Regions from separate parts of the Homo sapiens genome. Here region 1 is linked to region 2. Evidence: promoter capture Hi-C in 16 types of primary human blood cells and fetal thymus (Javierre and others, 2016). All regions are on one chromosome and are shown on one strand. The core of a region is centred on a gene start or on the middle of the fragment in contact, and the rest is flanking DNA. Distances in the headings are between cores, read along the strand shown. Region 1 has its middle 110 kb from the start of LINC01203. Region 2 holds the start of TLR8 (toll like receptor 8).

Region 1 (4,531 bases), core at 1,865-4,364, 530 kb before region 2:
GGGTCCCAGTCAATCTGAGCTGGCATGATAAGGAAGTCCCCTCTGCTTTAACCCTCTAAAGAAAGTAACTTTGAAATGGCCAGTCTGCTTTTTTTCACTGTGCTGTTTCCTTGTTCTAGCTCAAGCTACCTTACAAAAACAAACTGTTCTGCCATGCCTGGTGAAACACCCTTTTCTTTCATAGATGAGATACTGCCTGATTCATGAATCACTAATAAAAACCAATTAGACCATTAAACTCAATTTGTTGAAATTTTGTTTTTTGACAGTTAATACGACTCTTCTGAGAGTCCACTGAAAACCAAAATGTTAAACTCTTTATGGCAGATTTGTGCATCCCATTTGGGCATCCCAGTCCCCAGCCCAGTATCTCAATCTTTTCCTTCCATCTTCAGAGAGTTTCCTTTCCTTACTGTATGAATCTCAAACACCCCTATTCCAAGGTAACTCCTCTCTTACTTACTGTATGAATCTCGACCACCCGTATTCCAAGGTAACTCCTTTCTTAATTCATAAGGTTTGGTTTAATTTTACAATCCGTTGTTATTTCCCACCTGGGTAGCCCATAGATAAAATATGCTAAACCAAAATAGTTCCCCCAAGTCTGACCTTCTCAGTTTAAATAACACTAGAGGAGGGTACAGGGCTTTAGTAGAACAGTCCAGAATGGATGGACTTTAGCACTCATTTGACACTCTTCCCTAGGATGAGGTAAAAATACATTTCCACAGACTTACTTATGGCCCCCTGTGTATTGCTCTTGAACAAAACATGTTTCCCAAGGATAAACAAAGTATATCATAGACATTATACTTCAGATACATTTTAAGAAAGAAAAACATTTTCTCAGAGTCAATACAGTCCACAGGATTTTCCTTGCCCTCAATGGTGACAGACTGATATGGTTTGACTGTGTCCCCACCCAAATCTCATCTTGAATTGTAGTTCCCATAATCCCCACATGTGGTGGGAGGGACCCAGTGGGAGGTAACTGAATCATCGGGGCAGTCTCCCTTACGCTATTCTCATGATAGTAAGTTCTCATGGGATCTGATGGTTTTATAAGGGACTTCCCCCTTCGCTCGGCTCTCATTTTTCTTCTTCTTGCCGCTATGATTATAAGTTTCCTGAGGCCTCCCCAGCCATGCTGAACTGTGAGTCAATTAAGCCTCTTTCTTTTATAAATTACCCAGTCTTGGGTAAGTCTTTATTAGCAGCATGAGAACAGACTAGTACACAGACTTTTACTTTATTAATCAGAACAATTTTGTTTCTCACATGTAGGTTCTAGGGTTACACTTTGCATAGCCAGGTGTTGCTATAAATAAAATAGCCTCCAACACCAAGTGTTGACTCCCCAGCAGCAGAAAAAATCAGTAGAAGCTGTGAAATTAAAAAAATTTTAAACATGATCAAGAATTTTTAGCTAAGATTTCCTTCCTGACACATCTTTATAGGTAAAAGGGTGACATTACAAAGATTGATCCTCCCTAGTCCAGACCAAGTCACCAGGGAATGTGGATTTGTTCCTCTCCCACTTAGAGTTTTCACTAAACCATACCAAAGTCATGCTATGTATATAAAATGTTCATATTTCATCTTGTTATAATTACCTTTCAATCAGCAAAAGAAACTGCTATTGTCTGAATGTTAATGTTCCCCCCACCCCCTGCAAATTCAAATGTTGGAATCTAATACCCGATGTGATAGTATTAGGAGGTGGGGCCTTTGGGAGGTGATCAGGTCATCAGGGCTCTGCCCTTATGGATGGGATTAGTGCCCTTATAAGAGAGGCTAGAGGGAGCCCATTTGCCTCTGTAAGGTGCCCTTTAGGAGGAACAGGCCTCCACCAGATACTGAATCTGCTGGCACCTTGATCTTGAACTTCTCAGCCTCCAGAACTGTGAACAATAAATTTCTGTTGTTTATAAATTACCCAGTCTAAGGTATATTGTTATAACAACCTGAATGGACGAAAACAGAAACTATCTTAGTAAAGATGTTAATAATTTGTTTAATTTTCTTTCCCTTCCTTCATCAATAGGAAATCAGTATGGAGTCTCTATTTTGCTAGGGCCCATAATCTTACAGTATGCTAGGCCAATTTGAATCTTAAAAAGTGGTAAGTGGGTTTTAAGCTTTCTTCCTACTGAGCATTTCAAACATACCAGAATAAAACAGAGTACTTTCAGAGCAAGTTAGCCAATAATTGTCTAGAATCTTTTTTCACACAAGGAAGAAAGCAAATCTGTCATAATTACATAGAAAAAAATGCAGAGATGAATTTCTACTCTCTAGTAACTCTTCCTTCTGAAGCAAGCAGTGCCATTCAGTAATTGTATGAGTGTTGCAGTTGTACTACTTTTGTAGTGCATTTGAGCTTTCTCATTTATATTAATCCTTAGCATGATGGTAAGACTCAGCGACATCTGGCCCATATTTCCTTGTTGTTTTGCTCTATAGGTTCACACCACATTAACCGTTCAGTTCCTTAGTCATTCCTTTCTCCTGCCTGCTGCAGGGCCTAAGTACAGTCTTCCCACTGCTGGGAATTCCCTGGTCTAGGTCAGCTCCACAAAATAATTTTGCTTTCTTCTTGTTCAGTTTGCAATTATACACAGATTTGTGTATTTAATTAGTTAATGTTTAGATCCCTCATGATATTGTAAATTCCATGAGAGCAGGGACCAGGTTTATATTTTTATTCTTTTTATCAACACATTCATAGTAGGTGCTGAAGAAATACAGCATAAATGACTGATTGAATGAATGAATGACTGTTGATTTGGGGGATGGATTTTTGCATCGGACTACAAATTATGTACGATAAAACTAAATAACAGCAGAGAGGATATAATGAGGACAAAAGGAACAGAATAATGAGGACAAAAGGAACAGAAAAGTGTTAAAAATTCTTGCAAAGGAAAAGGAATAAAGGCACGGTAACAGCAAGAGATGGGCTAAAATGAATCAGAGAAAGAATGAAGGAGCATTGATAAGCAAGAGACCCTTGACTTTTTGAGCTATTTTATAAGTTGTTACCAGGTGAGATTAAACCAAGTCCAGAGAATTAGGGAGCTTCCAGCAAGGCAGTTTCAGCCTGGATTATGTGGTGTTGTCTATGACCCGCTAGAAAGAGACTAGAGTTTCTCGTCCTTAGGGATGAGGTGGAGTGAAATGAAGATGAGCCAGGTCAAGGCTGGCTTTGTAAGTCATTCAACGAACATTTATTGAGTGTCTTCAGGGCATTGTATGACATTCTCTAGTGAAAGATAAATGAATGAAGAAGTGGTCTCTGCCTTGGGAAATTTATATCCTAGTCCAGGAAAGGAAAAAACTATGGAACACACACACACACACACACACACACACATTAGTACACATATACACATATAAGCACATATAAAACACAAATATTTATAATGCACCTTAGTGTTGGAGTTAAATATGCTAAAAGTGCTTTTAAGCTCTAAGGAGAGAGGGTTCAGTCCTTTGGTGCAGTGGGGTGGAACTCTTAAAGTTTTCCCACACATTTGGTTCTGAAACAATGCTATTTGCATGAACAACCCTAGTGTCAACATGAGGAAGTCTGCTAATCTTTCAGCTTGCATCGTATGGTTGAAGTGAAAATGCCCACATAATTTTGGAAGCCCAGCATCCCTCCTTTCTGGTGCTTAGGCCTCTGCTGAATCCTTGACCTCCCTCTGTTATTCATCCCTGTTCATGACTACTCATTTCTGAATTCAGTGGTCCTGTTCCCTTCCCCATCCAAGTGCTCCCAAGTCAAGGATCTGTTTATAATAGATTTTACTGAATGCTATAGGCAATGGCTGTGTGTGTGTGTGTGTGTGTGTGTGTGTGTGTGTGTGTGTGTGTTGGTTACATCACAGACCAGTAGAGCAAACAACTTAAAATGTAATATTAGAACACCTCATCCTTAAAACTCCTATCCTCTACTTGGCACCAAGGAGCCATCACCAACCAGCACTTTACCCCACTTCTAGCCTCCTGCTATGTTTCTGGGCCCTCTCTCAAGAATTTCTAGATGACTTTCTTTTTCCTCTCAGCTTGTAGGCACCCCGAAGCTTTAAACATCCTGAGTAATTTATCTTATCATCTTATCCCAAACCATTTTGACTTTTATTCCCAGAGACTTTTGCTTAATAGCCAATTATGCCTACTTAGGGGTTAGCTTAAATTGCGCTGTCTCTGGAGTGAAATCTTACGGTCAGGCTTTAAAGTAACACTTGTTTTTTTAGTTCACACTTCGAATTGCTTGCCAAATGCTATACAACGTCAAGTACAGTTTTCAAAAAAGTTAAAAACATGGTCTCATATAAATATTTAACAAATATGTGTCAGAGATGTATTTAATTCCCTAGTGAGGGAACCAACAGGTTCAAGGACAAAAGGAAATGGTAAATGAATAAATGAATGACTACATATCTTCATCTAAAAGAGAACACTGGAATAAGATTGCAAATTAAAATACAAAATTGATTAACCACTTCCTACAGGGGAATAAAACTGT
Region 2 (4,497 bases), core at 970-3,469:
CACTCTTATCTGCAGTCTCAGCTTTTCAGAGAAAGCATACTTAGAACTTCTATTTTGCTTTCTAAAATCAAACCAAGGTGGCTGGTAAATACATTTCAGCTCTTCCTGGAGCATTTCTAGCCACCTAAAAAAACGGACTGTGCTTTTTAACAAAAGGACCAAAAAACTGTTGATGTTCTAAGGCACTGATTCTTAACTTTGGCTGCACAGTAGAGATACTTAGGAACTCTAAAAGCTACAAATGCCAAGCCCTGTATCCAGAGATTTTGGTTTCATTGATCTGGGGTTCAGTCTGGGCAGCAGGAGTTTTGAAAGCTCCCCCTCTGATTTGAGTCCATTGCGAAGGCTAACAACCTCTGCCTTTAGGCAGGAGGTCAGCCAGGTCCTTGACCTCCATTGGCCACCAGTGGGAGCAAAGTGGCCATTTTTTGCAAGTTTAATTTGATTTTATTATTACTCTATTTACCAATCTGTTGTTGTTGTTGTTGTTGTTGTTTTGAAACAGAGTCTTACTCCGTTGCCCAGGCTGGAGTACAATGGTGCGATCTTTGCTCACTGCAACATCCACCTCATGGGCTCAAGCGATTCTCCTGCCTCAGCCTCCTGAGTAGCTGGGACTACAGGTGCGTACCACCACACCTGGCTAATTTTTGTATTTTTAGTAGAGACGAGGTTTTGCCGTGTTGACCGGGCTGGTCTCTACCTACTGACCTCAAGTGATCCGCCCACGTCGGCTTCCCAAAGTGCTGGGATTATAGGCGTGAGCCACCGGGCCCCGGCTATTTACCACATTCTTACAGTACAATTATACTGGCTATCACAGCAGCTTACAAATATCAAGTAGGAATTGGATAATTTCAACTGCAATCCCATATGTGTCATTGGCCCAGTTGACCGAATTCCATATGGGCCACCTACAGTCATTTTGTAAAGCATTGTAAAATTTTAGTGCAGAATTAATTTACCTTCAAGATCCATAATGAACATTAGGTGGGTATAAAAATTAACTTCAGGCCGGGCGCGGTGGCTCATGCCTGTAATCCCAGCACTTTGGGAGGCTGAGACAGGCGGATCACCTGAGGTCAGGAGTTCGAGACCAGCCTGGCCAACATGGAGAAACCCCGTCTCTACTAAAAATACAAAAATTAGCCAGGCGTGGTGGCACACACCTGTAGTCCCAGCTACTTGGGAGGTTGAGGCAGGAGAATCGCTTGAACCCGGGAGGCGGAGGTTGCAGTGAGCTGAGATCACGCCACTGCACTCCAACCTGGGTGGCAGACCCATTAACTTCAAAAGACTTAAGTGTACTTTAAATTGTTGTCAAAATTAACTCCAAGGACTTTGGGGAAAAATATATAGTACATTTTGGATGAGACTCTCTTGAAATCAGACTTTTCAATTGCTCTTAAACCTCATTGAATTTTCTAGAAAATGTATCATTTAAAAAGAAGTGTAAAGTTCATTTTTAGTCTGACAGTTCTTGACAATAACAAAAACGGACCACCTGCTATGTCTTGACAGTGTAAAATAATAATTACAGAAATTGTAGCATGTTATTAGGTTGGTGGAAAAGTAATCACAGTTTTTTGTACCAACCTAATTATTTAAAACTCTGACCAAGAAAAGTAGCAATTAATGTCGAACTTTAAGCCTCCAACAGTAGGTTAAGCTCAGGCTTCACTAGGATCTAGCAATTGACCTATGTATGTGAAGGAAGAGAGTTTGTCCTTTTCTACAGAAATAGCAAAGGAAGAATATTTCCCTCACCTTCTCTTCCAACCCTGTTGTTCTGGAAGAGGATATTGTCTCTGGTAGGGCCAGTAAGTAATATTTCCAGTTCAATTTCTAACTTGAAATTTTCTTATTTTCCTGTCCAAATTAGTAAGATCATCACTGCATTTGATTTTCAAAATTTACTCTCTAATTCCTTTATACTAACGTGTGCACAAATTAAAGATCATAGCAAGCCGCTTTACCTGCATTTACAGTTGTTTCGATCTTTAATTTTTATCCTTATTTGCCCATTTATTACTTTCTAGGCTCACACCATTTGCCACCAACCCAGATTTCTGGGTCAGAAACCCCATATTCTGTTGGAAAGCTTTGCTAAAGAAATAGAAGTGGCTTACCATGTTTCTGTTGTTCTAATTTTTCATTCCGTAACTTGCAGCAGCGCAGAATGGTACCCTCTATGCAGGAGGTGGCCGAGAAGAGAAACTGGCTAACTTCCTGAAATGGCTCTATTTACCATCAGCAGAACGTAGCGTGTGTTTTACAGAAGTTTACATGAAAAGAAGGGAACTTGTGATTTCTTAGCTGTTGCCAAATCATTAATTGACTGTGCTTTAAAACTTTGAAACTGAAGTTATGGGAAAAAGTCATTTATGAAATGATTTAAATACAACCCAAATCAGACACACACGACGTATTTTTGTTAGTTTTTGTGTATTTGTGTGTACAGGGGAGAAAAAGGGAACATTATTCCATTCACTAAGAAAACTTCAGTGTATTCTTTTTTAAAAAAGTTACCATAAATTTGTACTGAACTTCGGATTTCTCAAACTCGTCTTCCTTGTGTAATTCACAGATGTAGGCGAATAACATGAACATTGCTTCATCTTTGTTCCACAAGTTTCTGAGACAGCACCGGTAGGTATGGGTCTCCCTCCCACTGGGCTGTGGCCGCAAAGCGAGCATCTTTCTCCTGGGCGCCCCATGCCTCCTCCAGCACCTGGCATGTAGTATAAGCTCAATGAGTGTTCATTGTATGAACGAGTGAGTCAATGGCTGAGCATTCGTGAGGCTGGAAAATTTAATCTTCCCGATTTAGTCTGATAAATGGATTCCATTTTATGCTCGGAGAGCAAGGGCCTCAAAAGGTGTAACCAAGAGCAGAGGTCAGCAAACTGCAGCCTTTGAACGAAATCCGGCCCAGAAGTGAAAACATTTTTAGATGAACATTGGCAATGGATTTGCTGATACAGAACACTAACTTTAAATTCCAACCAAGCAGAATGTTAGCACCTCCAAAAATGATTCCATTCTTCTCATTATTAAACCTATACTACAAAAAAACTGCCTTCGATTATTATTATTACATTTTGAGTTTCATCAATTACATAATTGTGGAAATTTTTATTTTACTATATAAGTAGCTACATAATATGCCAAATTTGCTTCTTGGCCTGTAAAACCTAAGATATTTGCCATCTGGCCCTTTACAGAAAAAGTTTGCTGACCCCTGGCCACAAGAATAAAGTTTAGAACGGGATGTGATATGTTTCATCTTGCCTTACACCCCAGGAGTGGGAGAAAACCAAATTGGCAGCAGGGTGGGCAGAGATGACATCCATATATAAATGGACTGTGGAACACCTTGTTATGAAGGAAGGCCTGTCAGCAGTCAAAGAATGGCTTGGGTGGGTATACCTAGATGGACCTCTAAAGATCACACCCTAAGGGAATTCAAGACCTGGTGCATGGTTTGAGAGGTGATTCCTGTGACATCAGAGAGTGCAGCCTGGGCCTTCATGGGCAAACCAAAAACATTTGTGATTGTAAACCCAAAGGCCTCGGCTGGCCGCATCCAAGTCTCTTGGTTTCCCTCCAAACATTTGCTTGGAAATAAAGTAAAGAAAGTAAGTAAGAATGGATCGAGTGCAGTGGCTCACACCTGTAATTCCAGCACTTTGTAGAGGCCGAGGCAGGAGGATCACTTGTGCTCAGGGGTTTGAGACCAACCCGGGCAACATGGCAAAACCTTGTCTCTAAAAAAATACAAAAATTAGCCAGGCATGGTGGTGTGCACCTGTAGTCCCAGTTACTCGGGTGGCTGAGGTGGGAGGATCGCTTGAGCCCAGGAGGTGGAGATTGCAGTGAGCCATGATAGTGCCACTGCACTCTAGCCTGGGTGACAGAATGAGACTTTGTCTAAAAAAACAAACAAACAAACAAACAAAAAACAGCGAAGTAAAAATGACTTCCAGCCGTTGACTGAGCAAGGATCCTTGGAACTGGAGAGTTTGTCAGCTTTCTAGAAAAGCGAGACTCACATACCCTGGCTTCTAGGCCACCAAGTGTCAGCCAATTGTAGACCAGTCAATTGGCCTTGTAAAGCATGCTTGTATACGTATATATATATATGTGTGTGTGTGTGTGTGTGTGTGTGTGTGTGTATCATCATGTATATATGATATATATATATTTTTTATGTACATATGCATGTTTATATGTATATATACACACATACAGTCTAGTATCTATGTCAAGCAAACTCATAAAAATGAGTTACTTACTTATACCAAATGAGCCTTCAGTTTTCTCCACACAACCAGTACCATAAAAGATGAAAATGAAAATGGAATTGACACCAGGGCAGGAAGGTTACTGAGAGGAAGAAGCTCCATCTGCTTGTAAAGTAGCCAGATGATTGGCTTCTGCCCAAGCCCAGAAACTGGTCCTTGGTGGCCAGGTCTGCTCTCCCCACCCTGCACTGTG

Evidence for each region. The method cuts DNA at HindIII sites, captures the fragments that hold promoters and counts their contacts. A CHiCAGO score of 5 or more calls a contact.
Region 1: a fragment that was not itself captured here is called in contact with the fragment with the promoter of TLR8 in region 2 in 4 of 17 cell types (naive CD8 T cells, non-activated CD4 T cells, naive CD4 T cells and 1 more); the score reaches 8.5 in naive CD8 T cells.

Annotation. Positions count from the first base shown.
Region 1 is chrX:13,438,315-13,442,845 of GRCh38, reverse strand. No RefSeq gene overlaps it. Among named protein-coding and RNA genes, the nearest start is that of LINC01203, 110 kb to the right of the region's middle. The HindIII fragment of the contact is 1,947 bases long and covers 2,141-4,087 here.
Region 2 is chrX:12,904,342-12,908,838 of GRCh38, reverse strand. It overlaps TLR8 (toll like receptor 8), which reads right to left and starts at 2,219. Exons shown (of 2, transcript NM_138636.5): 1 at 2,130-2,219. The coding sequence starts at 2,132. It overlaps TLR8-AS1 (TLR8 antisense RNA 1), which reads left to right. Exons shown (of 5, transcript NR_030727.1): 3 at 506-623; 4 at 2,588-2,649. The HindIII fragment of the contact is 3,594 bases long and covers 2,104-4,497 here.